2 separate regions of the Homo sapiens genome follow, and region 1 is linked to region 2. Evidence: promoter capture Hi-C in human tissues and cell types (Jung and others, 2019). All regions are on one chromosome and are shown on one strand. The core of a region is centred on a gene start or on the middle of the fragment in contact, and the rest is flanking DNA. Distances in the headings are between cores, read along the strand shown.

Evidence for each region. Contacts are between HindIII fragments. The study calls those that stand out against the background at their distance.
Region 1: a fragment that was not itself captured here is called in contact with the fragment with the promoter of PAX7 in region 2 in 3 of the 25 tissues and cell types used here (H1 embryonic stem cells, liver and thymus).

What each region holds. Positions count from the first base shown.
Region 1 is chr1:18,587,988-18,592,913 of GRCh38, reverse strand. No RefSeq gene overlaps it. Among named protein-coding and RNA genes, the nearest start is that of PAX7, 40 kb to the left of the region's middle. The HindIII fragment of the contact is 9,422 bases long and covers 1-4,926 here.
Region 2 is chr1:18,628,446-18,633,574 of GRCh38, reverse strand. PAX7 (paired box 7) reads right to left here and starts at 2,729. Exons shown (of 9, transcript NM_001135254.2): 1 at 1,887-2,729. The coding sequence starts at 1,971. RefSeq lists enhancers at 1-388, 1-1,398, 1-1,406 and promoters at 1,946-2,222, 1,946-2,856, 2,260-3,045. The HindIII fragment of the contact is 8,003 bases long and covers 1-5,129 here.

The sequences.
Region 1 (4,926 bases), core at 2,104-4,603, 41 kb after region 2:
ATTGAGGATGAAAGATCTAACTCTTGGAACAAAAAGACTCCAACATACATTGGCTTGGAGGACAAAGAGGTCTAACTCCTCACAGTGTGAGGTGAGCTGCTTAGTTGGTGGGGCAGCTCTGTTCCAAAGGGTCTTCAGAAAGTCATATCCTTTCCAACATGTTTCTCTGTCTTCTCCTAGGGCATTGCCATTGTTTGCATGGTTGATACTGGGTCACTGTGGGCTCTAGAGGGAGGGAAGGGGGAAGGGAGTGTGAAGGAGGTGCACCCACTGTGGAGTATAAAAGGGACACATAGACTTCCATTCATAATCTGTTGGTGAGAACTCAGCATCATGTGACCTTATCTAACTGCAAGGGAACCTGGGAAATGTAGTCTTACGATGTTCCTGATGAGAAAGGAAGAATGAATTTGAGCAGACAACTGGTGGAGTGGAAATGAGTACCAGTGCTTTAGAAAATGATGTGTCAGTGTCTGCCAGAGTTCACATACACACACTGTATGGCCCAGCCATGGTACTCCTAGGAGGGCTCAGCAGAAATGAGCACATATTTGTACCAAAAGACATAGGCAAGAGTGTTCTATTCCTAATGCTACTGTTTATTATTATTAATTTTTTTAAGAGACAGGGTGTATCTCTGTTGCCCAGGCCTGTGGTATAATGGTGCAATCATAGCTCACTGCAGCCTCCAACTTCTAGGTTCAAGCTATCCTCCTACCTCAGCGTTTTAAGTAGCTGGGACTATAGGTGTGCACCACCACACCCTGCTAATTTTTAAACTTCTTTGTAGAGATGGGGTCTCACTATGTTGCCCAAGCTAGTCTCAAACTCCTTGCCTCAAGTGATCCTCCCACTTCGGCCTCCCATAGTGTTGGGATTATAGACGTGAGCCGCCATGCCCAACCTAATTCCTATTACTAATTATTAGTAATATTATTAATTCCATAACAGTATTCCTAATAGCCCAAATATCCATCAGCAGTAGAATGCTTGAACACATTGTAATATAGTCAGACAATGAAAAACTCTACAGTGATTAAGATGGACAAAGTACTGCTGTGCATCACAGCAAGGATGGATCTTACACAGTGTTGAGTGAAAGAAGTCAGACACCAAAGAGCACATGTGGGTCCAGTACAGTGGCTCATGCCTGTAATCCCAGCACTTTGGGAGGCTGGGTGAGGCAGGTGGATTGCTTGAGCCCAGAAATTTGAGACCAGCCTGGGCAACATGGTGAAACCTCGTCTCTGCAAAAAATACAAAAATTAGCTGGGTATGGCTGGGCGCGGTGGCTCATGCCTGTAATCCCAGCACTTTGGGAGGCCGAGGTGGGCGGATCACGAGGTCAGGAGATCTAGACCATCCTGGCTAACACGGTGAAATCCCGTCTTTACTAAAAATACAAAAAAATTAGCTGGGCATGCGCCTGTAATCCCAGCTACTCGGGAGGCTGAGACAGGAGAATCACCTGAACCCTGGAGGCAGAGGTTGCGGTGAGCCGAGATCTCACCACTGCACTCCAGCCTGGGCAACAAAGCGAGACTCTGTCTCAAAAAAGAAGAAGAAGGAGAAGGAGAAGGAGAAGGAGAAGGAGAAGAAGAAGAAGAAGAAGAAGAAGAAGAAAAAACGAATTAGCTGGGTGTGGTGGTGCACACCTGTAGCTGCAGCTACTTGGTAGGCTGAGGTGGGAGGATGAGGCAGTCCCAGCTACTTGGTAGGCTGAGCCTGGGAGGTTGAGGCTGCAGTGAGCTGTGATGGTGCTGCTGCCCTCCAGCCTGGGTGACAGAGCAAGACACTGTTTCAAAAAAAAAAATTGTAAAAAAAGAGCACATATTTTTTTAAACTTTTTTTCCCATTTTTTTTCATTATTTGTCTTTACATATGTTTTGATTTACATTACAACGTGAAAAAATGCTCATCATCACTGGCCATCAGAGAAATGCAAATCAAAACCACAATGAGATGCCATCTCACACTAGTTAGAATGGCGATCATTAAAAAGTCAGGAAACAACAGATGCTGGAGAGGATGTGGAGAAATAGGAACACTTTTTCACTGTTGGTGGGACTGTAAACTAGTTCAACCATTGTGGAAGACAGTGTGGAGATTCCTCAAGGATCTAGAACTAGAAATACCATTTGACCCAGCCATCCCATTACTGGGTATATACCCAGAGGATTATAAATCATGCTGCTATAAAGACACATGCACACGTATGTTTATTGCAGCACTATTCACCATAGCAAAGACTTGAAACCAACCCAAATGTCCATCAACGATAGACTGGATTAAGAAAATGTGGGATATATACACCATGGAATACTATGCAGCCATAAGAAAGGATGAGTTCATGTCCTTTGTAGGGACATGGATGAAGCTGGAAACCATCATTCTCAGCAAACTATCGCAAGGACAAAAAACCAAGCACTGCATGTTCTCACTCATAGGTGGGAATTGAACAATGAGAACACTTGGACACAGGAAGGGGAACATCACACACCCGGGCCTGTCGTGGGGTGGGGGGAGGGGGGAGGGGGGAGGGATAGCATTAGGAGATATACCTAATGTAAATGACGAGTTAATGGGTGCAGCACACCAACATGGCACATGTATACATATGTAACAAACCTGCAGGTTGTGCACATGTACCCTAAAACTTAAAGTTATATAAAAACAAACAAATAAATAAAAACAGACAATACAGGATATTAGTTTGATGCAAAAGTAATCGCGGTTTTTGCCATTAAAAGTAATGACATTACTTTTAATGGCAAATTACTTTTAATGGCAAAAACCGCGATTACTTTTGCGCCAACCTAATAGAAATGGGAAAGGTGTTTCCTTTTGGGAGGAGAGGTATGATCACCAGGAGGAGAAGGAGGAGGGCTCTGGGGAGCTGGTCACGTTCCGGTTCTCAATCTGAGTAGCTATTTCACGGGGGTGCTTGCTTTGTGAAAATTCACAGTGCTGTTCCTTTATGATTTGTGACTTTCCTGTATACATGTTCTATTTCAATAAGCATTTTAATTAACAAAATTACTAAAAGGCAGAAGAATGTGAACAAGTGGAAAGATACATCGTATTGTGGCGGAGGGGGGGAGCGGCGGGGCTCAACACCGTGACATTTTAATTCTCTCTCAGCTAATTGATAAATATACTTTGATTCTGATAAAAAATATCCACAGTTTTTGTTGAATGAGGCATGCTTATCCTAAAGTTCGTATGAAAAATTAACCAGTAGGCATAGACAGGAAAATTCTGGAAAAAGAGGGTGCTCGGGGGAAGGACCAACCCATATTATGAAGCCTCAATCATTAAAACAATGTGGTTTTGACCCGTGAATAGTCAAGCAGACAATAAAATAAAAGAAAACTCAGAAATAGGCCTACATTAAATGGACAGTTAGTAAGGTTACCATACCAAACCAGCAAAGAAAAGCTGAATTATTTAATAAACGGTGTTGGACAACTGGAAAGACACCTGGAAAAAAAATCTGGATTTCTACTTTATATTTAAAATAAATGTTGAAGGAATCAAAAATTTAAGTGTGAAAATGAAGCTTAAACATTTTAGAAGGAAACATCAGAGAGTTTCTTTATGACTTTTAAATGAGGGACTTTCTAATTATGACTCAGAAATCTAGAAGCTATTAAAAATGGATAATTTACTTATTTTTTATTTTTCTTTAAAGACACGGCTTCATTATGCTGCCAAGATTGGTCTTGAACTCCTGGCCTCAAGCGATCCTCCCGCCTCAGCCTCCCTTGTAGCTGGGACTACAGGCATGTGCCACCATGCCTGGCTAATTTTTATTTATTCATTTATTCATTTATTGTAGAGATGGGGCAGTCCTAGGTTGCCCAGGCTGGTCTTGAACTCCTGGCCTCAAGCGATCCTCCCACCTCAGCCTTCCAAGTAGCTGGGACTACAGGTACGCACCACCATGGTTGGCTGATCAATTTACTTCTATAAAAATTGGCTGGGCGCAGTGGCTCACACCTGTAATCCCAGCACTTTGGGAGCCTGAGGCAGGCAGATCACCTGAGGTCAGGAGTTCGAGACCAGCCTGGCCAACATGGCGAAACCCTGTCTCTACTAAAAATACAAAAGTGGCTGGGCATGGTGGTGCAGGCCTGTAGTCCCAGCTACTAGGGAGGCTGAAGCAGGAGAATTGCTTGAACCCAGGAAGCGGAGGTTGCAGTGAGCTGAGGCGCGCCACTGCACTCCAGCCTGGGCGACAGAGCTAGACTTCGTCTCAAAAATAAAAAAATAAAAAATAAATAGATAAAAAAATAAAAAAAAATCTGCTTGTTAAAAAAAAAAATCCCATCATGAGCAAAGTCAAAAAAAAAATGACAATCTGGGACAAAATGTTTGTAACTCATATCAGAGGTAAAGGGTTAATCTCCCTCCTGAAGAACCTAGGGAAATTGATGAGAAAGTCAAACGACCCAAAATAAAAATGGGCAAAAGCTGTGAAGAGATAATTTAGAGAAAAGAAAATCCAAAAGTGCTTGAAGATAGGAAAAGAAGTTCAGCTCACCCATAGTAAGATCAATGCCCATTAAAGCTACAGACACATGTCACGTTCCCTGATCAAACTGCCAATCATCCAAATGTAAAATGACGCCTTCTGTTGGTGAGTGTGAGGGAGAAGTAGACATTCTCCTATGTCACCGCGGGGACAATGTCTAAGGGCACCTTGGCACTATCAATCAAAGTTTCAAACGCATGTTGTCTCTGACCGAGCGACTCCCCTGTGGGAATTTATCCTATAGAGATACTTGCACGTGTGAAATGACAACTGTATATAAGGCTGTTCATCACAACAATGTTTAGCAAATGGCTAAAAACAGCCCATGCCCTGCAATAAGGGGCTAGTTAATTCAATTATGGTCTGTCTAGACCACAGAATACCATGGTTAA
Region 2 (5,129 bases), core at 1,480-3,979:
GACACTACTGCCCCAAAGCTCCTAAATTAAATAGTCGACTTGGCCTCACAAATCCATGAACTGTGCCTGCAGGCTCTGCGAGGCTGGTAGGCAGATGGGACACAGTCCCCCCGGGTGGGGGTGACTTTGGGAACCGGGAAGACAGGCATCACTGGTGTGTGCTGGGGAGGGGAGAACGCCTGGTTGCCTTAATGCAAAGTCTACACAATTTCCTCACAGAAGATTGGGGGGACACCCAGCGCACTAATCCGGCCTCGATCCCCCCAATTTGGGGACTCAGCGGCTGCGGAGATCTGGAAGATTAGAACGATTTCACAGCCGCGGGAGTGGAGGGAGCTGACTGTAATTGAAAGGGAGGAGGCGAGAAGAGGCTCCGCTGCTGGGCCGTTCCTACCGCCCCCTCCCTCGCTCTCCCGGTCCCCCCACCTCTCTTTGTAAAAGTCGGTGTCTGAAGCCACTCTCGGATTTAATCAGAAATCGTGCGTCGCAAAGTCGGAGTCACTCGGTCTCCGTGGCGGGATATGCCATTAGCGCTCAAGAGCTCTCGAGCGCCCAACTTTATATTCAAGAGCCTCTTTAGCGACCGGCACTCGGCTCTCCTCAGTATTCTGCGTCATGTTGGGCAAATATTGTTCTAATCCGCCGCGCGTCCTCAGCCGCCTGTTTTACTTGCATTCGCTACAGGAGAGTGCCACTGCAAATCCCCGGGTTTGCGCGCTCTCCCGCCTGCGTGGCTGCCGGCGCGCACTTGATCACGGAGCCGCTCTCTTCGCCTCTGTCTAATTCAGGGACCCGGCGCCGTCTCGCTGCCCAAGGGAGCTCCTCCCGGATCGCAGGCTGCCAGCCCACCCACCCCCTCCCTGCCTCCTCTCCCCTTCCTCACGCGCCAGGGACTCAAACGATCACAGGAAGAGTAATTTAAAAAAAAAAAGTCGCACATATTTCTAATGACTTCTCTGTGACACCCTAGGCTACCTACCCTCAGAAGCCAAATGATCCCTCAGTGACAGGTTGAGGCCTTCCATTAGTTTAAAAAGAAAACAGAACAAAAACACAGGAGCGGGTCTCTCCGCTGTGCGCTCCCAGCCTTTTCTCCAGCCAGGACCCGGTTCGCCGCCGCCCGTCCTATCGGGTCTCCCCGGGCGGGCGCTGGATGTTTAGGAAGGACGCTTTACAAAATCAGCTCTTTCTTCTCGTTTGGACATTGCCGTGCCCCTCTCGCCGTTTAGAGGTTCTCTAAACCTCGCCGTTTAGAGGTTCTCTCCCGGGAGATTTCCAGAGTGCGGAAGCCCGAGTAAAAAGTTTTAGGGGGAAAATCATTACTAATTATTATTTCCAATTAGTTTGTTTCCAGGCGGAAAAGCAGGAGTGTTTGACTGTGGCTTCGGAAGAAATGGATAGCCGTGGTAGTTGAGGCATATAAAGTATCACCCATGGTAGGTGGTTCGAAATAAAGGACTGGAAGACCAATCCCGGGGGTGGAAAAAATAATTCAAAACAAGAGTAGAAAGCTGGCAGCCAGCGAGCCAGGAGAGCCGAGAAACTGTCAGGGAAGAAGTGTCTGGAAATAGTGGAAAGAGCTGAAATTCACCAGGACCTGATATTTACTAGGAGTCCAAATCTACCAGAATTTCAGCCCTGCGGGTAAAGACCGGCAGCTAGCGACCTGCGAAACGAAGGCCGCCGGGCAGTGAAACCCACGCAGAAGCGGACAAGTATGGGTCCCAGAAACTCCCTGGGTTCCGCGCCCGGACTGGGACCCAGAAGAGAACGGGATCCCTCTGCTATCGCCGGCGCCGCCACCGTCCCCTGGAGACCGCAGCCTCTCCAAGGACCCCGAGTTCCGGGCGGCGGAGTCGCGGCGAGGCCAGCCTGGGCGTTCTTACCTTCCAAAGGGAATCCCGTGCGGGGGTAGTTCTGCCCCGGAGCCGGCCGCATCATTCTCGGTACCGTGCCGGGAAGGGCCGCCATTCTTGCGCACGCCGGGGACGAATCCAAAGTCGGCAAAAATCGCTTCCCGTCCGCTCCCTTCACCCCTGCTGCGATCTCTTTCTTTCCGTCTTCTTCGTCTTCTTTTTTTTAACCTCTTCTCCCTCCCCTCCACACACACTCCCTACCCCCACCCCCCACCCCTGGCTGCAGTCAAACGCGTCCAGAAGCTGGGGAGGGGGGTGAGGTGGGGTGGAGGTTGGGGGGAGGGAAGGTGGCGACGACGAGGAAGTTCAAACAAACAAACACTCCAACCCCAAGTCCGCCTCTGCCGGCTGGCCTCGGCCAGAAGTTGTGCGGGCTGATGCGCCTGGCAGAACCCGGAGACCAGGCCCCGCGGCGGAGGGGGGCCGGGGGAACGCGGCCGGAATCGAGGCCGCCAGCCTCAGAGTGGCGAGCGCCGCGCTCTCGCGCTCTGGCGCTCTGGCGCTCGGGGCCAAAGTTTCCGAGCCCGGAGACTGCGGAGTGGATTTCGTTCTCGTATTTATTTATATATTTATTCTCTCGCTCTCGCTCCCTCCCTCTTCTCCACGCCTTCTTTCTCCGGACCACACTCGCTTCTCCCTCCACACCAGCTTTCACAGCCCCGTCCCCTAGGAGACCCGGGGACAGACGGAAGAAGGAGCCTCCTCGGGTTTCAGGGCTGGACGGAGGAGACAGGGGGTGACGGGGTTGGGGAAAGAGAAATGGAAAAGCGAGGGGGCGCGAGTGATCAGCTGGGTAAGTTGTGCAAAAGTGTTCACCGAAGTACGAGGAGGAGGAGGAGGAGGAGGAGGAGGAGGCAGTGAGCGCGATCTGATAGGTTCGGACTTTTCTTTTATTCATGAGGAGGGAAGGGGGCCAGGGCGCAAGGGAGCGGAGGACCAATAACGAAAAGAAATCGCCAACGAATATTTTTTTCCCTCTTTTCTAATCCCCGGCTCGACCTCGTTTTGGGGGAGAATTTGAACCGCCGTGAAAAGAGAGGGAGCCGATCCCGGCGAGTTGGGGGCTGGGGGAGAAGGGGAGGGGGCCAACTTTGTCCCAGTGCCTTCCTTTGATGAATGGGCCGGATCCGCCGAGTCCCCGGCCCCCAGGTCGCCCACGGCTGCTCTCGGAGTCCCGGCTGTATGGGAATGTCTGCCTCGGGTCCGGCGCCTCTCTGGAGTCTCGCCTTTTCTCTGGCCTCCGAGGGCCAGAGTCCGCCCTATTTCTCATCTTCTCCCTCGTCTTACACCCTCTGAAATTCCTCCAGTGAGGCTCCCCGGGAACCGGCCTAGGGTGACTTGAAGGGAGGAATTCTGACCTTTTCTGTGTAATGTCAGAGCCCCGGTGTCCGGTTCTTACTCTACCTTCCTGCCGCTCTGAGAAGCCCCCAGTAACCGTATCTGGTTCCGAGGCTTGGCAAAGTGGGTCTGCCAAGTGCTAGGCACAGGTTTCTTCCTCCCCTTCCAGTTCCGCCCCGTGCAGACGTCTCCAGCCGCCGCCGTCCTCCTCAGGCCCCCAGGCCGGGCCTATAACTCCTTTCCAGCAGGTAGTTGGGTTTACAGGGAGTTGGTGCTGGTGTGAGGATCTGGGGGCCCAAAGAGGTGGGAAATGGGAGGGAGGGAGCCCGTCAAGACTTGATACAGCTCTGAACTCACCAACTCTGAGCTCCTTGCTGGTGGGTTTGAGGGGACGCCCCAACTGAATGATCAGGAGTCAGGGTGGGGTGATCAGAGGTTCCTGAATTCTTCGCTTTCTGAAGCCAGGGTGACCAGTAGCCTCAACCTCGGGACACCGAGTCCTGGGGGCGAAACGCCCTCCCAGCGGGGCAGGACGCCACAACTGCAGGCCTTTTGTCTCCCGGGGGAAAGAGCGTCTCTGGCCCCACGCTGGAGGCAAAATACAATAAAATGAACCCAGCCCTCAATCTCACCCCCTGCCCGCCCTCTCTCGGCAGTGGGGTCAGCCTTGTCTTAGCCTGGGGCGCTCACCGCTGGCTGGCCCCAGGGTGTCCCCATCCCTCCCCTTCGCCTCACCTGTGACCTTTGCCCCTTGCAGCATGTGACAGATCTCCCTCCTCTCCCCACTCTCCTAGCACAAGGGGCTCATCAGATTTTGGGGGGGCCTTCTGGGAATGGGGGCCCTGATGAAAAACTTGTTGAGCTCATACTCTCTCTAACTGAGAAGACAGATGCCAAGTAGCTTTCGAATTGGAAGGGGGACACCGGGGTACTTTGCCTGGCCCAAGTTATGGGGCCCTCCCCCGGGAGAGATTGGGAGATCAAGCTTTAAGCCATAGCATGTGTGCCCAGGGAAGACAGCAACCCCCTTACATCACCAGCCTTGCTGGGGACCTGGCCTGCTTTGACCTCCATAGGTGGATATATATTCTCTGTGTGTATATATACATGTATTTGTATCATATACACTTATGCATACACACGTATAACACACACACATATATATTAGGTATATTGCATATTCATCCATTCATTCGTCACTAGCTGTCCTCTGCCTGGAAGGTTTCAAGGCACTTCTTCCCTGTATTTGTGGAATGGGCCAGTGTGCTTGCGTGTGAATATAGGCCTGTGCCCGGGTCTGTGTGTCAAGGTGCAGGTGGGTTTTGTGTGTAGGTCTGTTTGGGGTCAGTTTGAGTAAATGTGTGTTTCTAAGTGAGGGTCCATGTCTGTATTTCTGCTTTGAGGTCACCTCCAGGTTGCCTTGGTATGGCTCTAAGCGCGCGTCAGGAATGTGTGAGTGTGTGTTTAGGTCAATTCTCAAGTGAGAAAAGACCTCCAGGGTGTGCCAAGGGTGGGAGGCTCCCTCTCTTCTGGCCAGTGCTCATGTAGCATCTTGAGCTGAGTGGGGCGAGTGCATAGCTGGACACTTCTGCTGCCAGGGACCCTCAGAACCTCAGGAGTCCTGCACTGGGGCCACCTTGCCCACAGTGTGGTCCCTCACCCTCCCTGCAAAAGACTCACAGTAGTGGGTGCAGTAGCGACACAGGCCCCCAGGGTTTCTGCAGCTCCGGGATTCCATGGGCCCTTGCAGAGGGAAGGGTTGAGGTGGGGTTGTCTATTGGAATGAGCGTGGCCGTTCTTGCCTGTTGGAGACCAATTTCACAAATGATTTTTGCAACAATTAAGGAGTGTGGTGGGGTGAAATGGCGATTTCAC